Regions from separate parts of the Homo sapiens genome. Here region 2 is linked to region 1. Evidence: promoter capture Hi-C in 16 types of primary human blood cells and fetal thymus (Javierre and others, 2016). All regions are on one chromosome and are shown on one strand. The core of a region is centred on a gene start or on the middle of the fragment in contact, and the rest is flanking DNA. Distances in the headings are between cores, read along the strand shown.

Region 1 (4,519 bases), core at 1,021-3,520:
ATTTTGCCACATGAAAATCCAAAAATCTAGTACATATTTATATCCAACTCTCGTGCTGTTCTCCTCCCTTTCAAAACATAAGACCAAATCAAATTAAGGCAACCATTCAAAATTACACAATAAATGAATAAAACAGCAAAGCCTGAAATTCAAAAATCAATTTTTAAAACAATAAATCCAAACCTATGGGCTATTGTTTGGATACAATTTAAAGGTCTATATAAACAGCTCATACATCCAAGCACAGAACCAAATTTCATGAAGCCAGTATAATTAAGGCAAATACTACAATATCCCTAAAGTTAAAAATCTCAATACCACTCCTATTGCAAAAATAGTAACTGTTACAATTCATCTCAAGCCAAACAGAAAATGCTATTTATCTTATTAATAATGCCAATAGCAGATTTCCATTTCAAACAACTATTCTGCACTCTACTAAGGAAACCCAAATGATGATGTAGAAAAGTAAAATTAAAAATTAACTTGGAATACTGGGATTACCCGTTTACTGAAAAATCTCAATGTAATTTTTTAAAGAAGTTTGCGTTTAATACTTTCAGGGATACCCAAACTATTTCATGAAGACTTGCCAAATAAATAATTATAATTTACACTCACTTTCTTTGGTGGGGGAGACAGGGTCTCTCTTGCTCTGCTACCCAGGCTGGAGTGCACTGGTGCGATCTTGGCTCACTACAGCCTCGACTTACCCAGGCTCAGGCAATGCTCCCACCTCAGCCTCCCCAGTAGCTGGGACTACAGGTGTGCACCACCACACCCGGCTAATTTTTGTATTTTTTGTAGAGCCAGGGTTTCACCATGTTGCCCAGGCTGGTAGGGAACTCATGGGCTCAAGCAATCAGCTCACCTCAGCCTCCCACAGTGCTAGGATTTACAGGTATGAGCCACTGCGCCTGGAGTAATTTACATGTCTTTAATGTACAAATAAATGTTGCGTTAATCCAGAATCCAGTACTTACACTTAAGTACCACTGTTCCCCAAAGTGGGGGTCTGAAGATACATTCACTGAGGTCTGTTTTCCTTTAAAAAAGGGTACGTAGATTAACCAGAAGCTAAACTAGCAAAGACATCAAATTACTTCACACATTCTACATCTGAAAAATATTAATCAGGTTTGCTATTAAAGTATTTGCACAGTAACAAAAAAAGAAAAAAAGCCTATTTTCTTCAACAAACCAATATCCATACTAACACTTCAACAAAAACTACAAATGGCTTCTGGAATACTTACTTTATCCATATTAAAGTCCCAAGACTCCCTCCTATGCAAATTGGCTTAGCTACTCTTTTTAAGATATTTTAGAAAGCACCATAAGCTATACATATTCTTGTCTCTCCTAAGCTTTTAAAAAAATTTTAACGGGATTTACCCTGGGAACATAAATTCATCTACAAGAGAAATTAGAGACGTTTCAAGGAATAATTATATCTCAAATTCAAAAAAACTCTAGTAATTTATCCTACCTCACTTAAAAACTATCTTTTAACCAAGTAGTTTCATGAGCACAAATCTCATGAATTCCAATTCAAGCAGACTATTTAGAAAGTTTATTCTCATTTGCCACAGTTAAACAAAACTAATGCTTAAACTTCTCTACCCTTGAGACAGTAGGGTAATGTACCATTTATGCCTCTACAATAACACACCTTGGAGACCAACTGTAAGAGACCAGCTCTCAAAATGGGCACTTCTGTGGTTCCAACATGCTATATTTCCTTAAGCAAATTCTCCAGAAATTCAACTCTTAACACACTAAATTACACAAAAGCAAAACACGAAAATTACCCTCAAGTAGTCTGCAATTAAAATTTTGCGTTTTTCTAGTTATGAATGCAAAAAGTATTTTTGTGCCTTTGTGTTCATTTGAAGACAATAATCTGTTAAAATTTCTATGAAAAGAAGAGTGGGTCCCTAAAAGATCACTTAAGTCAGTGAAATTTAAAGCGCATTTTAAATAACTGCTATTTTTATCCAACGATTCATCCCACTTAATCACCATTATAACTAAACAATACGTAACGTGCCTCTTCTAATCAAGACTTAAGGGGATACAGAGAGGGAAACGGGAGGGAGACAGAATTTAAATAAGTAATATCTCATCAGATCCATTTGATTTTTAACTAGCGAAGAAAAAGTCATTTTCCAGATATGGTGAGGGAGAGAATTTTTTTTAACTCTGCGACTACTTCGTAAAGCCCAAGGTCATGATGTAGCATATTCACACTCTAAACGTGAGTTTCCCCTGCAGAAAATAATCTACACCAACCCATAATTATTCTTTACGATGATCCACCTTTTATAATGTAGATGTTTAAAATAAAAACCAAAGGAATGACCAATGAGAGCCACAGTCCCTAGGAAGAACTGTAAATGAAGACGAATCCACATGGCACAGGATTTCTCCCAACATCCTCAAACGGGAATCATCCGAAGGCATCGATTCTACAGCCCAAAGCCTTTGTCCACAACTCCCAGGGGTCAGAGCTTCCTTCTTTCGCGCCAGGCCAAAGTTGCTACGTGGGATCCGATGTTGTCGCCAGACTTTCAGCCAAAATCAGCCTTCAAATTAACCTGGACCGCCCAACCTCCGTGCCTTTCCGTTACGCCGTCTCAAGGGCAAACATTCCACCCTAACTCGCCAGAGGGTGAACTGCCCCCAGATCTAACTGAAAACACTTGCCCTTCTCAAGCCTAACGAGCTGGGCCTGCAGCGCTTTTCTGCCACCACTGACTACGATGACATAGCAAAGAAAAAAATATACCTATGAAATCCTTCGAGATCTTCACTCTCAAGATCCCTGGGAAGCGCACATACACCACCACATGGAAGCTGACGGGAAAGGAAGAGTCGGTGTTTTAGCAAGAAAAGAGGGTGCCCTAACGGCAGGAGCTACGCTAGATACTGGCGCGGCCGCCGGTCCCGCCTTTCCCCGTTCTTCCGGCTTGGTCGCCCAGCCCTCCCCACCCCCGGCGCCCCGAGGGGAACTGCTTCGCACTTGGCAATAAACACACACCACTGCTGCCGAGTCGGACACACAAGGCCGGAGGCTGAGGGAACTCTTCGTCGCAGCAGCCTCCCCAAAACAGGTAGACCCTCAGTGAGCCCAGAAGAAGATGGCGCCCACTGCCCCTCCGGTCCGGACAAACGGACGTACGGTTTATCTGCCCATGCGCTCTGCAGGCGCAACCCACCACCAAGCTTGCGCACGCGCGCTGCCGCTCACCCGTTTCCCCTCGCTAGAGGAGGGGAGGCGGAGCCCCGGGGTTGGCTGAGCTTCTGCGCATGCCCAGATTCTGCCCAGCCCAGGGACCTCGACTTTCAACGGGAGAAATTCAGAGACACATTCAGGGCTCAGCCGGTAGATGTGCTGAGAATCTTCGGTAGACAACTGTCGAAGTACGGCGGACAAACTTTAAAGATTTCCAGAAGTTAAGGAAAGAGATGCAAAAGCAGAGAAAAGGCGACTTGTCTTTTCAGTGTTGCATTACTGTGTGGCGTAAAACATCTTCTAAAAAGCTCCTGTGGCCGGGCACGGTGGCTCACGTCTGTAATCCCAGCACTTTGGGAGGCCGAAGCGGGCGAATCACTTGAGGTCAGTAGTTCGAGACCAGCCCGCCCAAAAAGCGAAACCCCCGTCTCTACTAAAAATACAAAAAAGTCAGCCTGGCATGGTGGCGGGCGCCTGTAATCCCAGCTACTCGGGAGGCTGAGGCAGGAGAATCGCTTGAACCCGAGAGATGGAGGCTGTAGTGAGCCGAGATCGCACCGCTGCACTCCAGCCAGGTCAAAAGAGTGAAACTCCATCTCAAAACAAAAATAAAAAAGCTCCTGTAGACCCTAGAATACCACAGAAAAGGTAATTTTACTGCCTTAGATGTTCGCCAAGTACAATCCCAACACCTGGGGGCTTAATAAATGCATGCTTAGTCGGTTTTATAGATATAAATAACCTTGTGAAGTGTCTTTATAAATTTGTTCCCATCTTCTGGATTTTTGAAACAAGAGAACAGATGAGCCAGTACTGAAATTTCAGTAATGGAAAAGCACTATTACAGGTGTACTCTGTGATGCCTGCTACGTAATAGCTGGTGAACAACCTTGTGTTTGGTTTTATCATTTGCAAATAACAAAGTTTCCCACCACGTTGTATAGCTACTTGATGTATTTGTGGATGGATTCAAAGCTCATTAAGCAGAAAGTACATTTTAAAAACATTGTTACAGATGACAGAAAAAGTGAGTTGTGGATCCCTTTCTCACTGCAAAATACCCATTCTTTAATGATATGATTATAAGAAAGAAGAGGTAGTTTAATAAGTAAATAAAAAGATAGTTAACACAAAATCAGAGCCATCTTTTACTCACTGGACAAATTATTTAGCCCCTCTGTGCCTCAGTTTCTTCATCTGTAAAATGGGGATACTCCTAGTACCTACCTCTTAGGGTTGTGGGAAACATTCAGTAAATATGTATGTCTCAGATATATGTAAATA
Region 2 (4,639 bases), core at 908-3,407, 7.2 Mb before region 1:
AGCCCATCTATGCCACCATTGGTGCACGTGTGTTTAATACTATCTTCACTGTAGTTTCCCTATTTCTGCTGCAAAGGGCAGGAAGGCGGACCCTGCATATGATAGGCCTTGGAGGGATGGCTTTTTGTTCCATGCTCATGACTGTTTGTTATTAAAGGATGAGTATAATGGGATGAGCTTTGTCTTTATCGGGGCTATCTTGGTCTTTGTGGCCTTTGAAATTGGACCAGGTCCCATTTCCTGGTTTATTGTGGCCGAACTCTTCAGCCAGGGCCCCCGCCCAGCTGCGACTGCAATGGCCGGCTGCTCCAACTATACCTCCAACTTCTTAGTCGGACTGCTCTTCCCCTCTGCTGCTTATTATTTAGGAGCCTGTATTTTTATTATCTTCGCCAGCTTCCTCATCACCTTCTTGACCTTTACCTTCTTCAAAGTCCCTGAGACCCATGGCAGGGCTTTTGAGGATATCACATGGGCCTTTAAAAGGCAGGCACATGGTGCAGATAGATCTGGGAAGGATGGCATCATGGAGATGAACAGCATCCAGGCTGCTAAGGAGACCACCACCAATGTCTAAGTCATGCCTCCTTCCACCTCCCTCCCAGCATGGGAAAGCCACCTCTCCCTGAATGAGAGACCTCATCAGGATGAACCCAGGACTGCTTCTGAATGCTGCTACTTGATTCCTTTCTTATCCCACGCACTCCATGCGCACCTCAAGGCTGGGGTTTGTTGGATTTTCAATGGTTTTTTAAATATTTTATTTCCTGGACATTCTCTTCTGCTTAGGAGAGACCAAGTGAACCTACCTTCATTTCAGGAGGCAATGGCCACTTGGCATATGACAACTTTGCCAGTTTTTCCTTCCTTGGGTTCTAATATTGCCGCACTAGGGGATATAGGAGAGGAAAAGTAAGGCGCAGTTCCCCCAACCTCAGACTTATCAGGAAGAAGATATACATATGAGTGTGGAAGGCAGACGGGGTTTATGTAAGAGCACCTTCCTCACTTCCATATAGCTCTACAAGGCAAATTAACTTGAGTTTTATTTATTTTACCCTCTGGTTTAATTACATAATTTTTTAAGTTCTGGGATACAGGTGCAGAATGCGCAGGTTTGTTACATAGGTATACATGTCCCATGATGGAAATGTTTATTTTTTTAAGTGTAATTTTGCCAAATAATAAAAACAGAAGGAAATTGAGATTGGAGGGAGGTGTTTAAAGAGAGGTTATACAGTAGAAGATTTCATGCTGGGGAGGTTAGCGTGCAATATGAAGAATTTAGGGAGAAATGTAGTTCATTATTGGAGGGTATATTATGTGGTGCCTGAAGTCTGCACATTACCTCTTGACAATTTCTGTCCTTCAGATGGAAACTCTTAATTTCCCATAAAAGTCATATGCCTACATAATAAAGTTATTGATTTCCTTTGGAACTTTTTTCTTTTAATAGTTTACATGTAGTAGTACTTGAAATCTAGGATTATTAACTAATATGGGCATTGTAGTTAATGGTGGTTGATGGGTTCTAATTTTGAATGGAGTCAAGGGAAGGGAAAGTTATTTCTAGAAAGCTTGTTCCCCCTCACTGGACCAAACAACTCCTCCTTGTAGGAGACTCATTACTTTTGAAGTAATCCCACCACCTATCTGGTGGGAGAGCCATCCAAATGAGAAACTTAAAATAATCAGTTCTTGGTAGAGATTCATTATTTCTCCATTTTGTGCTTTAGGAGATTTTAGGTGTTGATTTTGTTTTATTTTAACTCATATCTTTAAAGGAATTCCCCAAAGAATGTTTATAGCTAACTTGGAATTTATAACCTCAGCTCTGGGATTTTTTTCTGAACGATTATTATCTAAAGGTGTGTTGTTGCCTTTAGGGTCATGCCATGCTTGTCTATGTCTGTTACCATGTCACTGTGGTCCTATGCCAAGTGCCCTTAGGGGGTCTCAATCTTTCCAACAGACCATGTTCGAGATAGTATGAGTCAATGTACAGTGTAGCCCACACTTGAGAGGATGAATATGTGTGCACTGTCCCTTTGCTCTGGATGGAAATAGGTTATTGTTGACTTATTTTTTCTGTGTTCCTACAGCCCCTTTTTCATATGTTGCTCAATTTCCCTTCCCCTTCTTGGTGCTTACACATCTCAGACCCTTTAGCCAAACCCTTGCTGATAACGGTATCTTGGTTCTCAGTTCTCACTGTTTCCTCTGGTCACGGAGACTTCAAATAAAAATGCACATAGCTATGGAGTGGGGTTTAGCTGGAAAAGGTGACCTTCTTCCAACTTCACGTCAACTTCTGGCTCCTCAAACAGTAGGTTGGCAGTTAGGCAGGGAAGTTGTTTTCCCATTTCTCACTGAGCAGATTGTGAATATTTCCATATGGATTTTCTATTATTAACATTACCCTGATTCTTTGTTTTAAAATAAAAATTCTGAATGTACGCACACAAAAAAACTCTAAATGTTCCATATATCTAATTTATGCTTACCTTTGGCTGTGGCATGAACCACAGCAGCCTGAGAGATAACCTGGTAAGTTTCAAAACCCAAATACGACAAAGCTGAGAGTAAAAGGCCTCTTTTGAAAGTTCCTGGGTTTCCCATTACCTATGGAAACAATTATGTTAAGAGTTACAAACTTTGAAAATTTGAAGGTACTGCTACCCCAAGCAAAAATTACATGAATTTTCTCCCACCCCCAAAGCAATCGATCATAATACTGGAAGCTTAAAAATTACTTCATCAAAATCTTTAGTAAAACTATCTCAAAGCGTATCTTATTGAGAAAAAGATATCCCCTGGAGTCGCCGCTCATCTAAAAATCACACTCCTGCTGGAAAGGAAGAGCTACAACTTATTTGCTACAACTTATTTGCAAATGCATGGATATTGCAAATTGTATGAAGTAAAATATGAGACACCAACACATAATAAAAATGAATCTTACAGACAAGATTATCATATATAGTAATTACTACATATAAAAATGTACATGGCTAACTTTTAAATTTTTTTGTAGAGACAGGGTCTCACTGTGTTGCCCAGGCTGGTTTCAAACCCCTGGACTCAAGCAATCCTTCCGCCTCGGCTTCCCAAAGTGCTGGGATTACAGGCTGAGCCAAGGGGCCAGGCCTAAAATGGGACTTCAAACTCATCATTGTTCCAATTTGAAAACTTACGGCTAACTAGTTTCATACTTAGAACTCCTCCCATCTCTCTGCCTATATTATCTATAACCTCCCCATTTGGTTATAAACTTCCAAGGAAGGGGAATATGCCAAATTTTAACCACCCCTCCCCACCATCAGTCCCATAATAATTCTGAAAGATTTTAACTGAGCAGTTAAAAATTTGAGTTTAAAATAATGAAACCCCTAGTTCATGTGAAATATATCATATGCATTAATGCCATTCCAATTCCCTGACAAGAATAAACAGAGGCCCACGAGCAGTCTAATAGAAATACCAGAACTGAGACTACAACATGCCGACAACCTTCATTGACGTTATGCAGATACAACGGGCAACTGAGAAATAAACATTTTTAAACAAAAACCTAAACAGTATGAAATCTCTGCTTCTGAGTCGTAGAACTTTTTAAATCACACACCACACTTTTCAAAGTCTGAAAGGGGCAGCCTCAAGCGCTGTTGTATCTGTCATCGCCTACAGGGAGAATAATTTCACAGCGGTCAAGGTTCTTTCCCGTCCTGTTTTACATTTCGCACAAGAAGGGCGGGTAGCAGGCAGCTTCTGGGGCGCGTGGGGGCAAACCCCACTCCTTCTCTGACAGCCCCAGTTAAGGATAGTGGAGGTTTGCAAAATGGAAGGGACCTGTCCGGGCGTTCCAGGCACAGTGGCCCCGAGTTCTTTCCTCGGTTCACCACATTCCTTAGGCAGCGCGGGGCCGCCACCACTTAAGTTAAGGGGGAGCCGGAACCCACTGAGTAGGAAGTGAGGAGCGGGAGCCAGGACCACGGGGGTACCTCGAAGCCGCGGAATCGACAGGGGCCGCAATGCCCGCGGCTGCCCGAAGTCCCCGCAGGGAGACGAGACCCCGGGGCGGCTCCACGTCGGAAAGGCAGAAGGCGCCACAGTCGAGCAGCCAGCGCCATGACCTGCAACTTGCGGGCTGACCCTGCACTACTTCAGGCAGCTACGGAGGCGGGCGGGGCTAAAGGAGATTCAATCCTTCCGGAAAGAACCGCGCCCGCCCGCCTCCTGCACAGCACCTCTTCCGCCTCCTGCCCAGCACCTCTTCCGCCCCCATGGTTTCCGGTGCACGGGCTTAGGGGGTGGGAAATACCCCGATTGGGTGGGACTTAATGGACTTTCCGCGCCTGCGTCCAGGACTGAGGCCGTGAGAGCGCTCTCTTCAGGCGCTCTGACTTGTTTCTGCTCCATCTCTCTAGGGGGTCTTTCATGGTTTGGGCACAAGGATTCGTCGCCAGAATAGAACTGAAAGCTCGGAAATAGACCCGAGAATACAAGTATGCCAGAAAAAAAATTGTCATTTTAATTATCTGCTGCCTTCAAAAGTAGATTGAATCTTGGTACTAGTGGGTCTTTTTTGGAAGTAAATAATTGGAAGAATTATGTTGCCCAACATGAAGAAGGGAAAGTC

What was found. Contacts are between HindIII fragments. The CHiCAGO score rates a contact against its expected background, and 5 or more counts as called.
Region 2: a contact is called between a fragment that was not itself captured here and the fragment with the promoter of RBM12B-AS1 in region 1, in 1 of 17 cell types (non-activated CD4 T cells). The highest score is 6.0, in non-activated CD4 T cells.

What each region holds. Positions count from the first base shown.
Region 1 is chr8:93,737,841-93,742,359 of GRCh38, forward strand. It overlaps RBM12B-AS1 (RBM12B antisense RNA 1), which reads left to right and starts at 2,271. Exons shown (of 1, transcript NR_027259.1): 1 at 2,271-2,979. RBM12B (RNA binding motif protein 12B) reads right to left here and starts at 3,169. Exons shown (of 4, transcript NM_001377960.1): 1 at 3,041-3,169; 2 at 2,789-2,856. RBM12B-DT (RBM12B divergent transcript) reads left to right here and starts at 3,243. Exons shown (of 2, transcript NR_183450.1): 1 at 3,243-3,619. RefSeq lists an enhancer at 3,076-3,195. The HindIII fragment of the contact is 1,858 bases long and covers 1,366-3,223 here.
Region 2 is chr8:86,504,491-86,509,129 of GRCh38, forward strand. RMDN1 (regulator of microtubule dynamics 1) reads right to left here and starts at 4,196. Exons shown (of 10, transcript NM_016033.3): 1 at 4,002-4,196; 2 at 2,505-2,622. The coding sequence starts at 4,130. It also overlaps the pseudogene SLC2A3P4. RefSeq lists an enhancer at 3,941-4,110. The HindIII fragment of the contact is 1,164 bases long and covers 1,576-2,739 here.